2 separate regions of the Homo sapiens genome follow, and region 2 is linked to region 1. Evidence: promoter capture Hi-C in human tissues and cell types (Jung and others, 2019). All regions are on one chromosome and are shown on one strand. The core of a region is centred on a gene start or on the middle of the fragment in contact, and the rest is flanking DNA. Distances in the headings are between cores, read along the strand shown. Region 1 holds the start of OPTN (optineurin). Region 2 holds the start of DCLRE1C (DNA cross-link repair 1C).

Evidence for each region. Contacts are between HindIII fragments. The study calls those that stand out against the background at their distance.
Region 2: the fragment with the promoter of DCLRE1C here is called in contact with the fragment with the promoter of OPTN in region 1 in 1 of the 25 tissues and cell types used here (aorta).

The regions. Positions count from the first base shown.
Region 1 is chr10:13,094,438-13,101,514 of GRCh38, forward strand. OPTN (optineurin) reads left to right here and starts at 5,726. Exons shown (of 15, transcript NM_001008212.2): 1 at 5,726-5,865. It also overlaps a transcript of CCDC3 not described here. RefSeq lists silencers at 5,002-5,061, 5,532-6,101 and an enhancer at 6,382-6,511. The HindIII fragment of the contact is 16,289 bases long and covers 1-7,077 here.
Region 2 is chr10:14,950,649-14,957,725 of GRCh38, forward strand. It overlaps DCLRE1C (DNA cross-link repair 1C), which reads right to left and starts at 3,448. Exons shown (of 14, transcript NM_001033855.3): 1 at 3,254-3,448. The coding sequence starts at 3,362. It also overlaps a transcript of MEIG1 not described here. RefSeq lists enhancers at 2,085-2,813, 2,814-3,541 and a silencer at 3,560-3,639. The HindIII fragment of the contact is 23,477 bases long and covers 1-7,077 here.

The DNA of each region.
Region 1 (7,077 bases), core at 4,476-6,975:
GTAGAGATGGGGTTTCACCATGTTGACCAGGATGGTCTTGATCTCTTGACCTCATGACCCGCCCACCTCAGCCACCCAAAGTGCTGGGATTACAGGTGTAAGCCACTGTGCCCGGCCTATTTCAAGATTTTTAAACATGAGGCAGGCCCGGCACAGAGAGTTATGTCTGTAATTCCAGCACTTTGGGAGGCCGAGGTGGAAGGATCACTTGAGGTCATGAGTTTAAGACCAGCCTGGGCAACATGGTGAAACCCTATGTCTACAAAAAATACAAAAATTAGCCAGGCATGGTGGTGCATGCCTATAGTCCCAGCTACTTGGCAGGCTGAGGTGGGAGAATTGCTTGAGCCCAGGAGTTCGAGGCTGCAGTGAGCCACGACTATGCCACTGCACTCCAGCCTGGGTGACAGAGCAAGATGCTCTGTCAAACAAACAAAAAACATGGGAGGAAGGAGAGGAAGGAGGAGCTTAGCACAGCACACACACCGTGAACAGGCTTGTCTCAAAGCAGAGCCATGGTCCCTGGGACTCTGGGTACTTGGCTGAGGCTGTAGGTTGGACCCTAATCCCAGAGCCTCATTCTGATGGAGGCTTCAACCATACACCTTGCTTCTCATACAGGGAGTTGCTTTCATGCTGGATTTCAGGGAAAGGAAAGCAACCTATTAGAGGCATAGACACGCACCTGTTTGAGTCTCTGTTTTCAGTTTCTTTGGAGTGTACACCTAGAAGTGGAATTGCTGGGTCATATCATAACTCTCTGTTTAACTTTCCAAGGAACTCATCCTCGGAATATTTGGAACCAGTGATGAACTGAATCAAACTAAAGCTGAGACAAAGTCCAGACCAAGGTCAACCATAGGGCAGATGATTCATGCAGCGACCACACCAGTGGCCTCACAGGAGCAGGGGCACACCCTTTGCTGCAGCAGTCCCCAACATTTTTGACACCAGGAACTGGTTTCATGGAAGACAATTTTTCCATGGATGGTGGTGGGTGGGGGGGTGGTTTTGGGATGAAATGGGTCCACCTCAGATCATCAGGCATTAGAGTCTCATAAGAAGCACGCAACCTAGATCCCTTGCATGTTCTGTTGACAATAGGGTTCACGCTCCTATGAAAATCTAATGCAGCTGCTGATCTGACAAGAGGCGGAGCTTAGGCCATAATGCTCACCCACCCGTTGCTCACCTCCTGCTGTTCGGTCTAGTTCCTGAGAGGCCACAGGCCAGTACTGGTTCACCACCCGGGGTTTGGGGACCCCTGCTTTATTGGACATAATTATTAGGTCGTGTTCTTTTTGGTGGTGTTTGTACAGCTCTATTGAGGTATAATCCACATGCCATAAAATTCACCCCATTTGTAAATGTATGATTCATGGCTTTCAATTACACTTAAAAAGTTGTAAAACCATCATTACAATTCAAATTTAGTATATTTCCATCATCCCCCAAAAATCCCCTCGAGTTCCTTTGCAGTTCAAAGCCACCCCCAATTTCAGGCAACTACTGGTCTGATTTCTGTCTTTTTCTACTTTCCTTTTCTGGACATTTAATGTATATGGAGTCATAGCATATGTAGTCTTTGGCATCTGGGGTAGCAAGTACGAATATTAGTCTACCACCTCAGATGCACATAAAAATATTACATATCTTTTCTTTTCTTTTCCTTCCTTCCTTCCTTCCCTCCTTCCTTTCTCTCTCTACTTCCTTCCTTCCCTCCTTCTTACCTTTCTTCCTTCTCTCTCTCTCTCTCTTTCTTTTTGGACAGAGTCTCACTCCATGGCCCAGGCTGGAGTGCAGTGGCACCATCTTGGCTCAGCGCAACCTTTGACTCCCAGGCTCAAGCAATTCTCCTGCCTCAGCCTCTCAAGTAGCTGAGATTACAGGCACGCACCACTACTGCCTGGCTAATTTTTATATTTTTAGTAGAGATAGGGTTTCACCATGTTAGCCAGGCTGGTCTTGAACTCCTGACCTCAAACGATCCTCCCAAAGTGCTGGGATTACAGGCGTGAGCCACCGCCCTGGGCCTCTTTACTTTCTTTAAACCCAGTTCTGCAGGGGTGTACGGAAACCTATTTTCGGGCACCACTGGGGTCTGGAGAGGGGAGGTCTCCTTCCCTACGGCCATGCAAAACTCCAGGAGGGCTTTTGGTACCCATTGAAGTAAGGGCCATTTATTTTTCAGCCCAGCAACATTGCCACTGATACCCTCATTATCAAATGGTTCTTCTAGGGAACAGTCTCTGCTGTTTCCAATGACAAGCCTGGGCAGCAGAATCTGCGGGAGGTTCCCAAAGTCCAGTAGGTGCATCCCAAGAGCTTGCTGTCTGTCTGGGTGCTGCAGGGACTGAGGCTTGAGTCCTTGATGCTCATAAGACCACCATCCCACTCCTCCTCCCAATCTGGGGGCGGGGGAGTCACTCCTCCCTCCAACTGTTGTGAAAGCCTCCACCCCACCCAGCTCTGGCTCTTCCTCCAGGACATCTGGGGTAGATCATGGATGTATTGAGATCAGGCTTTCTCAAAAGACAAGAAGAAAGGCTGTACTTCTAAGAGCTGTTGCCAGGAGTCCAGCCAACGCTCCTGAAGGTAGGAAGCCCAAAGGGACTCGTTGCTAACTCCAAACAGAGGAGATTGGGGTGGAAAGGGAACACAAGGAACATCAAACCCAGATTAGGATCTCACTAAAAACCTTCCCACACTGCTCTACATTTACCCACCACAAAACCACATCAACAAATCAGCTAAGAGCATGCTATTATTTCAGTTTTTTCGCTGCATTTAGATTCCATCTACCCATGGAAGTGTGCAGGAAGATGGAGTCACCAAACGGGATGATCCAGGCTAAGAAACAGAACCGGCTCTAACACAAGCAACAGCAACAAACACCATGAGCCAGGCGTTCTTCTAGGTGTTGAAGACGTATTTCCTCTTTAATCTTCTCAGCATCCTTAGGTGAGGGCTGTGGGTCCAGAGGCCTTATCTAAAATTTTTGGGTGGCTGGGCACCGTGGCTCACACATGTAATCCCAGCACTTTGGAAGGCCGAGGCAGGTGGATCACCCGAGGTCAGGAGTTCAATACCAGGCTGGTCAACATGGCGAAACCTCATCAATACGAAAAATGCAAAAATTAGCTTGGTGTGGTGGCACACGCCTGTAATCCCAGCCACTTGGGAGGCTGAGGCAGGAGAATCACTCAAACCCAGGAGGTGGAGATTGCAGTGAGCTGAGATTATGCCACTGCACTCCAGCCTGGGCAACAGAGTGAGACTCCACCTCAAAAAATAAAATAAAACCTTTGGGGCAAGCTCTGCTTTAGAGTCCAGAATTCTGGGGATTTTCAAAAGGCTATTCAATAAATGGGATTTATATCACATAACACCCTGACACTGTCTGACGCAGTTCTCCTATCAACTATTCGATTTTCCTTCACAAAACAAATTTAAAAATCACATCAAGGGATCTAAATAAAGACTGTAAATAGCTTTCCATCAGTTGGGTCTGGTCAGAAAAGAGGTTTGGTCCTTAGAACTTTCTGGATTTGGGAGTGTACTATACTCCCCATTTTACAGATAAAGGGAATGAGGAAGGGTAAGATGAAGTAACTTGGTCAAGGTCCTACAGCTAAGAAGTGGTTGTCGGGGGAGTGTGTGTGCATGTGTGTGTGCAGTGCTTCAGGGCACCCCCCACCCCGACCCCACCACTGAGAGCAAGGAATCAGGAGAAAACAACTTTGACTGCTTTCTGTACCAGAAACTCACCTCGAGCCTCCCACACCAAAGCCATGGGCAGCTTGTGGGTGACCTTCTTCTCTTGGCTCTGAGTTTCACTGATGCTCATTTTAATTCACTTTCATAGTGTTGTTTTGTTCTCGTTTTTGTTTTTGCTTGAGACAAAGTCTCCCTCTCACCCAAGCTGGAGTGCAGTGCTGCAATCACAGCTCATTGCAGCCTCTCCCTCCTGGGCTCAAGCGATCCTCCTGCCTTGACCTCCCAAAGTGCTGGGATTACAGGTGTGAGCCACCGTGCCCCACCTATAGGGTTTTAAACAGTAAAAGGAGCCTAGTGAAGTACGACTTACCGCAGGCACCCCTTACAGGCCCCGGGGGGACCCTTTTCTGCCGATCCCAGGGTACAGCTGTGACACCGTCTTTTCTGCCTGGATTATCCCAGTAGATAAACAAAAATTAGAGATCGTCATTCCATTTCTCTCTGTATATATTTTTCCAAGCCCTTTTCATGAATGATCAGTTATTTCCTGCACTGATTTTTTTTTTTTTTTTTTTTTTTTGAGACGGAGTCTCACTCTGTCACCCAGGCTGGAGTGCAGTGGCATGATCTCGGCTCGCTGCAAGCTCTGCCTCCCGGGTTCAAGCGATTCTTCTGCCTTAGCCTCCCGAGTAGCTGGGACTACAGGAGAGTACCATCATGCCCGGCTAATTTTTGTATTTTTAGTAGAGACAGGCTTTCACCATATTGGCCAGGCTGGTCTCGAACTCCGGACCTTGCGATCTGCCTGCCTTGGCCTCCCAAAGTGCTGGGATTACAGGCGTGAGCCACCGCGCCTGGCCCTCCTGCACTGATATAAAAAGAATTTTTTTAAATTCTCTATTTCTCCCCACTCCCACCCCCAGGCTCACTCCTTATAAAGCAGCCTCTAGCCTCATCTGCCCCTCCTACACCACACCAACTCGAGGGCCCGGAATTGGGTCTGGGGCAGTCGCTGACTTGCTTGCTTCTCTGCCCTGCTCTTGGGGTTAGCCTCAGGGGCAGGGTTGAGAGTCAGGCTTGGCCAGGCAGCAGGAGGTCCAGACAGCGAAGCAGAATCCTTCGGAGATACCAGGAGAGGGCGCATCTGCCTTTTTCCTGTTTCAGATTAGGTTTTGTTGTTGTTGTTTTGTTTTTTTTCTCTCCCTCTCTCCCTCCCTCCCTCTCTCCCTCCCTCTCTCCCTCTCTCCGTCCCTCCCTCTCTCTCTCTCTCCCCCTCCCTCCTTCCCTCCCTCCCATCCCTGCAGCGCTACCCGGGTACTCTGGATGCACATAGGGCGGCTCTCGCTCCTACCTTGTCATCCTGCTGTCTAATCCGGGGGCAGCTTCCCTCCTCCACACCAGCAGAGGCTATTCTTCAGCAACAAGAATAGCCGAGCCTATTCGTCCGCAACAAGAGCCCAAGAAGCATCCTGCAGGCTTTCTGCTTTTTGAGTGTATTTTAAAGCAAAAACGAGTGGAAAGCTATGTATGCTCAGTTAACTATGTCTAGATGTTAACCTTTTTTCAAAAAACACAGATGGAGGCCTCCCTCCGAGGATGCCTGGCATTCTCCTCTTTCTGTGGGCGGCAGCGACCCCCTGCGGCTCCAGCCTCCACTACGGGATCTGCGGGAAGACACGGGGAAGACGAACTCCGCACACTGCATTTGATTAATGATTTATTTTGATTAACGCCGTCACAGTGACGCCTTAGAGCAGTCCCTGTTCACCCGGGTCCCAGCCTCGACCCCGCACGGACAGCGAGGGTGGGTAGCTGGGGGCGGACGCAGGAAAGAGGAGGGGCGGGGCCTTGGTCGGGTGGGGTATGGAATGGGCAGGGTGGGGGGGATGGGCGGGGTATGGGATGGGCGGGGCCCGGGAAATTCCCCGGCGCGGGCAGGGAGCGGCTGGCTGTCAGCTGAGCCGCGCTGGGCGGGGTCGCCAGGCCGCGCATCAGCCCTAGGCACCCCAGTCCCGGCTGCCCCCTCCGCCACCGCCGCCGCCCGCCGGCAGGTTCCCTGGTCAGCGTCCCATCCCGGTCGGGAGTTCTCTCCAGGCGGCACGATGCCGAGGAAACAGTGACCCTGAGCGAAGCCAAGCCGGGCGGCAGGTGAGCCAGGGCAGGGGGCTGCAGCGGTGGGCGAGGGGGCGGCGGCTCCTTCCCGGCGGGCGCTTCCGCGGCCTGAAAACGGTACCCGCCGCCCTGCCCCGCGGCCCGGAGCCTGTCGGGGTGAGGGTGGCGAGGGGTGGGGCGGCCCTCCCGCGAGACGGCTGCCCTGGGAGGATCCCCAAGCCTCGGCGGGTCCTGACCTGGTGGGAGAGGGTGGGTAGTGAACACAGGGTGGGCCCAAGAAGGGTCCAGGGCCGGCCTCTTGGCCGCAGGTAACCCCTCTACAAGTCACCCAGAGACTTGGAGGTGACGTCCTCCCGCAGGCTGGGAAGGATTCCGCAGCCAGTTCCTCGCCATAAGGAGGTGGTTACAGACACGCCTGTGGGAGACATGGGACCACTACCCGAGCTGAATGAGGTGCCCAGGGTCGGTGGGAATCCACATAGACTGCTGTGTCTAGGAGAGTGTGTACACTCTATATAGAGAGAATATTTGATGAGGCCGAGAACCCCAAAGGAATTGTTTTTGCCATCGAAATGCATAAGCTACAGGAAGTAAACATCGCTCAAAGAAAATGAAACCCAGGTTCCGACCTGGCCTCCACCAGCAGGAAAACTGTTGTATGGAAATGTACACCAAGGAACTGTTTGTAAGGATGAAATGGAAAATGAAAGCATAGAAAAGTAAGGCAATGTGAGGACCTCAGAAGCCTTTGGATCTGGTTAGCAAGGTGCAGGCTGTGTGAACAGAAGAACCCACCTTGCTCTTTTGACCCAGGGAGAGAAGAGTTAGTGGTGCCAGGCTGCCTCCCAGGACAGGCCCAGTTTTGGGGCGGGGGCTGGAGAAGTCCCAGGGCAGACCCCAAGGCCAGGGATTGCCCTGGAGTGGACAAGGCAAGTTTAAATGTGACCTGTAGACAGAGGACGATCATTGATTTAAGTCCTGGCATAATTCATCTGTTTTTCCACTGGGCCAATTTTAGGCGTTCTTTATATATTACGTACAACACAATAAAAGTAACAGCTTCTTTTTTTATAAACTAACCTTTAGGTTGCATATTATGCTAGGAATATAACTAACCTAACCTCCACCCCCCCACCCCCCCACCCACCCCCGGAAAACCAAACTTTATTCTCGAGGGCAACTGGACACTGTATTATGTCCTGCCGAACCCCCGCCCTTACTTAGGTAGAGGCGCATAAGTATTCTGGC
Region 2 (7,077 bases), core at 2,198-4,697, 1.9 Mb after region 1:
TAATTGGAGTTTCCAAAGAGTTTGCGCCATGGCAAAGAGGAGGCTGAATGCAGACTCTGCATCCTGCTCCCACACTGACTAAGCAGGCAGCACCCTGCATGGTGCATCATGGTCCCCCATCCTCACCACCCTGAGGCCCCTTCCAGCTGGTAGTCACAAGAACTGGATGGGTTTGCTTTGTGTGGCTGGAACTGCACCCAGGTCTGCTTTTCCAGGGAGGTTTTCCTTTTCCTTGGCAACCATCATAAATTGTCCCCTCTAGGGGATTTCCCCAACCCTGGGCCACTATCTCAGGTCTCAGGGGTCGGGGGGCCCTCTCATCTTTCAGAACTTACTGATGATGCTTAGTAAAGCCCACCCTGCACACAGCATTGGCTTCCAGATGGCCCACAAATAAGCATCAGGTGGGTCCATAGCCTACTCCGAATTATATCAAAATGTGATGTGGGGCTGGGTGTGGTAGCTCACACCTGTCATCCCAGCACTTTGGGAGGCTGAGGTGAGTGGATCACCTGCACCCAGGAGTTCGATACCAGCCTGGGCAACATGGGGAAATCCTGTCTCTCTATAAAAAATAGAAAAATTAGCCAGGCATGATGGTGCATGTCTGTAATCCCAACTACTCAGGTGGGAGTACTTGCTGAGGTGGGAGGATTGGTTGAGTCCAGGAGGTGAAGGCTGCAGTGAGCCGAGATCGCACCACTGCACTCCAGCCTGGGTGACAGAGCAAAACCCTGTCTCAAAAAAAAAAAAAAAAAAAAAAAAAAAAAAAAGGAAGTGATGTGGATGGGTTTCCATGCATTTTTTCTAGCAAAAGAGTCCATACAGTTTCTCATGTTTGAGCTGCTATCACAAGATACCATAGATACCATAGTTGGCCTTCACACCAGCGCTGTAAGGAAAGGTAGTGTTTTGGTTGCCTTCAACACCAAAAAGGTATTTCTCACAGTTCAGGAAGCTGGGAAGATCAAGATGCGGGGCGATTTGGTTTCTGGAGAGGGCACTTTTCCTAACTTACAGACAGCCGCCTTCTCACTATGCACTCACATGGCTTTCCTAGGCCCCGCATGAGGACAGAGCGCCCTCTCTCTTCCTTCTCTTGTAAGGAAACTAATCCTATCAGAGTAGGACACCACGGTAGGACCCCACTTAAACTTATTTTCCTCCTAAAAGCCCCAGCCCCAAATACAGTCGCTTTGGGGGTTAGGGCTTCAACATATGAATTTTGTGGAGATAGTCCATATCATAATCAAAGAAGCCTGTGTCCCAAAAAGGTGAAAAGCCAACAGAAGGCAATGTGAGAAACCTCCAAAAGCAGAAGTTGTGTTTTCACCCTTGATGAGTTTATGTCCTGGTTGACTAAGCAGATCCACATGTGGTCAGAGAACAGAAAAAGTTGTTATAGACTGTTCAACAGTAGGGAAGAGTCCATTTCTGGCTTAATGCACAAACTTATGATGATTTCAAATTCCTTTAGATTTATTATTTCTCCAAACTCAGCCATCCTAAACACGAAGTGCAAGTTTCGGAAGTATACTTTAATCCTGGCTAGCCCATTTTGAGTTCAGAGACTCCAGTGCGGCTCTACACAAAAAGTAAAAATAGGCATATCCTCGTCCAGCAGTGGATTCTCAATGAAAAACAAAACCAGAAATGTGTCAGGCACAGCGGCTCACACCTGTAATCCTAACACTTTGGGAGGCTGAGGTGGGTGGATCTACCTGAGGCCAGGAGTTCGAGACCAGCCTGGCCAACATGGTGAAACATCATCTCTACTAAAAACACAAAAATTACCTGGGTGTGGTGGTGCGTGCCTGTAACTCCAGCTACTTGGGAGGCTGAGGCACGAGAATCGCTTGAACCCAGGAGGCGGAGGTTGCAGTGAACAGAGATCACGCCACTGCACTCCAGCCTGGTGATGGAGACTCCACCTCAAAATAATAATAAAAATACAAACATTAGCTAGGCATGGTGGCTGACTCCTGTAGTCCCAACTACTTGAGCAGAGAGCATGTGCCACACTGTACTCCAGCCTGGGCGACAAAGGGAGACCCTGTCTCCAAAAAAAAGAAAAAGAAGAAGGAGATGCTCAAAGACGTGCACGATGCGAATACGGCAACGCACGAGAAGAGGTCCAGATTTTCCCATTAAAGAGAAATCACTGGTGGCTTTGTGGAAAAAAAAAGCAGAGACATTTCGCAGAAGCAGTAACTTCAACGATTTATAGTCCAAGTGATTGATTCCACACACAAAACAACATAGCTGGCCTTCACACCAACCCTGTGAGGAAAGGCTGTGTTTGGATACCTGTAATTTACTTTAAAATACTTTCCTACTGCGCAGGTACAGATAGGTTTGTTACGCTGATTGACTCCACAGGGTAGTGGGAGCTTCCTGCTCCAGCACGCTGCAAGGCCACACAGCAGGAGGCAGCAACTCCAGTGATTCCGTTTATCATTTTCTCCAATTAACACTAATGGCTGGGCGAATTAGCACAATGAGCATTAAAACTGTTTTCCCTGGTAAAAGTTAGTGACTTGTTAGCACAATAGAAGTGAAAATGAACAATGGTTGTCAAGTTAGCGGTATTTAAACTCTGGAACTTAGCTCCAATCTCTGCTTGGAGCATCAGCGACACTCTAACCTTAATCCCTAAATCGGCCCAGCTGTGAAAGGATCCAGCTGTGAAATCATAGTAGCTTTTCAGGTTGCCTGATACCATCTAGAAGGGAAACATCCCTCCAACCTAAACTAGAACGAAACTTTCATATTGGATACGGACAGAACACCCAAAGGCCAAGGAGCTTGCACTTCGTGGAGCTCTTAGGCGGGCTGTTCCACAGTTGTGTGTGTGTCTGAGTCTCCTGCTTGCTGACCAATGTTTGAGGGTGTGGTCAAATGGATCTGAAACTTGTTTTCTTCATACATGGTAGCGAGGCTCTGAGGGAAGTACTAACCCTCGCCAATCTCTGATCATCGGCCACCAGCAAAGCTACCAAGAGAAACTACTAGCAGTGCTTGACCAAGCCGGCCCGGGGCGCAACTGGCAGGCGCCGTTACGCCGCGTTGACCACATCCGAAAATAGATGAAGCCTTTGAGAGGCTGAAGAGCCCGACTGGGACAAGGCGTGTGCTGGCCGCCCCCTCGCTGGCTTCCCACAGGCTGCAGCTCCTTGCTCCAGGGCCGGCCCCCTCCTGTCCTCTCTCCAGCCCCCAGCGCCCCGGGAGCGGGCGACGCGCAGCCCTCACTCACCTTTGTGGCAGTGGGACAGGAAGTAGGCGCGGGCCCTCAGGTTCTCCCTATCGAAGCGGTCTATGGAGATAGTTGGATACTCGGCCATCTGCCCCTCGAAAGAACTCATAGCGCCGCCGATCCCAGAGTCCGGGACCCCAAAACCGCAGCTGAAGCCAAGGCCAGCCCTGACCGCGCCGCCACTTCCGGGAAGCCGCGCGCTGCCTCGCCATTGGGCGGCCGAACGCAGCCACGTCCAATCAGAGGAGTCCGGAGACCGGGGGCAAAGTCAAGGAGCATCCGGTCGGGTTCTAGGCGCCCGCTGCTTGGGTTTAAATCACCCGCGCTTCGCTGCACGCGATGGGCCCTGAGCCCTGCCCAGTGCAAGGCTCATTCCCGCCCAACAAACACAGGTGTTGCTCTGGTAAGGCGTTGCCCATGTCTGTGGAGGTGCAGTCGCGGGAAGGGAAATCGAAACTCCCAGAGCAGGTGGCCCCAGCCGACGAGGTGAGTGGGCTGCGGAACTGCGCTTAGAAATCATTCTTCGTTCCGCTTCCTGCTTGTCTGCTGCTAGCCTGAAACCCGAGCTCAGTTCCCCGCCCTCTCTCTTCTGTTCCCAATTTCTAACCTTGTGGGATTACCGTGAGGGTTGTATGAGAAAGTTTGTATCTGACTCATGGTAGATTCAGGAACTATTAATTCCCTCTTCCGTTTATATAATCTACAAACTGAATAAATCATCTCTGCGTGATCTTGGGGCAAATAAGATCCCAATAATGCCTTCGCTGCTGGCCTCTCCCCTGGGCCCCCACCTTTTTGAGCTATACTTTTAGGAAGTTAGAATGATGTACTTAAAAAAAGAAAAATGGCAGGAAAGGTCTAAAATTTTTTAACAACCAAAGCAACTTTATGAAAAGGTTTGTTAAACCTTTTATTGTATTTCCTTTATTGTATTACAATAAACCAAATAATCACCATGACATTTATTGTGCTCCTTCCTATCAAATCTCCTTAGTATAATTAAACACAAACAACCCAGAACACTTTCGCTTTATTTTATTTATTTATTCAGTTGGGGTCTAGTTCTATCGCCCAGGCTGGAGTGCAGTGGCGTGATTTCGGCTCTCTGCAACCTCCGCCTCCCGGGTTCAGGCGATTCTCCTGCCTCAGCCTCCAGAGTAGCTGGGACTACAGGCACGCGCCGCCACGCCTGGCTCATTTTTATATTTTTAGCAGAGACGGGGTTTCACCACGTTGACCAGGCTGGTCTCGAGCTCCTGGCCTCATGCGATCCGCTCGCCTCGGCCTCCCAAAGTGCTGGGTGAGCCATTGTACCTGGCTTTCCAGGCCTCCATAACACTTGAAGTCCCACTTTGTGCACAGCACTGTGACAAACCTTCGGGTAGCATTCAATCTATCTGGCGACAACATGTTTGCAGAATATGGCAAATAAATGCTTCCACAGAGACGCAAGGTAACGTGAGAACAAATCCAGGAACAAAGATTTCTGACCAGGGAAATCAGGAATCAGAATGCCATCCCAGCCCACCTCAGTGGCTCATGCCTGTAATCCCAGCACTTTGGAGGGCTGAGGCAGGTGATCACCTGAGGTCAGGAGTTCAGGACCAGCCTGGACAACATGGTGAAACCCCATCTCTACTAAAAATACAAAAATCGGCCGGGCATGGTGGCACACATCTCCAGCTACTCGGGAGGCCGAGGCAGGAGAATCACTTGAACCTGGGAGGCGGAGGTTGCAGTGAGCCTAGATCATGCCAGTTCACTCCAGCCTGGGCAACAGAGAGAGACTCTGTCTCAAAAAAACAAAACAAAACAGAATGACATCCCTAGTGAATGTCAGCTTGTGCCTGTAGCCATGATACTCAGAGTTCTATTCAAATACAGATTTCCATGAAATCTTGAGGAGGGGGAGGAGGGGTGACATGGAAAGGTATACACAACATAATCACTAATTGAGGTAAAATATCCTGCTAGTATACTACTGGCAACACCTTTGATGGTTTGTCTTAGAACACATGGGAACAACTGCCCTGGCAGGGTTATGGAGACCTAACAACAAATTCTGCTGTGAGTCTAGTGTCCGAAGAATCTCACGGTAGAGCTCCAGGAAAGGCAGGTCAAGTTAATGCTCGTGATCTTATGTATTTGCTCACTTATTTATCTCCTCCTCTTTCCACAATGGATACAGTACAAACAAAGGGAAATAGAGTCAGGACAAAGAGAAAGACAGGATAGAAAATAGGCAAGATAGGTAAGCATAGCCCAGACCAAACCTAGTGAATCAGAAACTCTGGGAGAGTGGGGCCTGGCAGTTTGCAGCTTAACACACCTTCTAGGTGATTCTGATGGACCCTAAAGTTTGAGAACCACTGGATTCGAGTCTAAAGAACATTCAGGGCCAGTGTGGTGGCTCATGCCTATAATCCCAACACTTTGGGAGGCCGACGCAGGTGGATCACCCGAGGTCAGGAGTTCGAGACCAGCCTGACCAACATGGGGAAACCCCGTCTCTACTAAAAATAAAAAAAAAAATAGCCAGGCATGGAGTCAGGGGCCTGTAATCCCAGCTACTCAGGAGGCTGAGGCAGGAGAATTGCTTGTACCCAGGATGCGGAAATTGCACTGAGCCGAGATTGGACCATGGCACTCCAGCCTGGGCAACAAGAGCGAAACTCCATCTCGAAAGCAAAACAAAACAAAAAAACACAACACTCAAGAAGTCTGGGGCAGGAATTCAGGTAGGAAGCTGCTGCAATACTGCAGGAAATGTGATGGTGAAGCTTAATTCATTCAGCAAATCATTCACTGACCATCTACTGTGTATCAGACACTATTTTAGACACTAAAGATACAGTAGTGAGCAAAGTAGACAAAAAATGTGGCCCATCCTGGTGGCTCCTGCCTGTAATCTCAGCACTTTGGGAGGCCAAGGCAGGTGGATCACTTGAGGCCAGGAGTTAAAGACCAACATGACAAAACCCCAGCTCTACTAAAGATGCAAAAAGAATTAGCCGGGTGTGGTGGTACACCTACAATAACAACTACTTGGGAGCTGAGGCACAAGAATCACTTGAACCTGGAGGCAGAGATTGCAGTGAGCCAAGATGGCACCACTGCACTCCAGTCTAGACGACAAAAGAGACCCTGTCTCAAAAAAATAAAACTAAAAAAGCAGACAAAAATCCCTGTGGACGTGGGAGTGTACCTTCTAATGCAAGTAATTACTGTCTACCATTTATGTAGTTCCAGATGTTATCAGTGTTTTATACTCATTATTTCATCCTCACATCCTACCTGCCCATCAGATAGGTACACTTTCTGTCCTCATTTGCCAGTTGAGGATACGGAGGTTAAGTAGCTTGTCCAGGGTCATGTTGATAGTAAGTAGAGCTCAGATTTAAATCCAAGAAGGCCACCACACTTTTAGACACTGTGCTCTCTGACAACACACTGCTAGCCACCGTGCCATGCTGCCTCCACAGCATCGGAAGGGCAGTGATGAAATATACTGATTCAAAATATATCCCTTTAGCACCTACTGTGTGCTAGGCAGTGTTAGGCCAGTGTGGCTGCAGCAGAATGATCCGGGGCTACAGAGGAAGGAGGGAGGGTGTTGTGAGCAAATCTTACAGGGCTTTGCTCACCATGTATAGCCTCTGGTTTTCACTCTCCATAAGATGGGAAGCCATTGCAGGGTTGTGAGCAGAGGACTGACATAATTTGACTTAGGTTTTTTTGTTTTGTTTTCTTTGAGACGGAGTCTCCCTCTATGCCCAGGCTGGAGTGCAGTGACGCAATCTCGGCTCACTGCCACCTCCACCTCC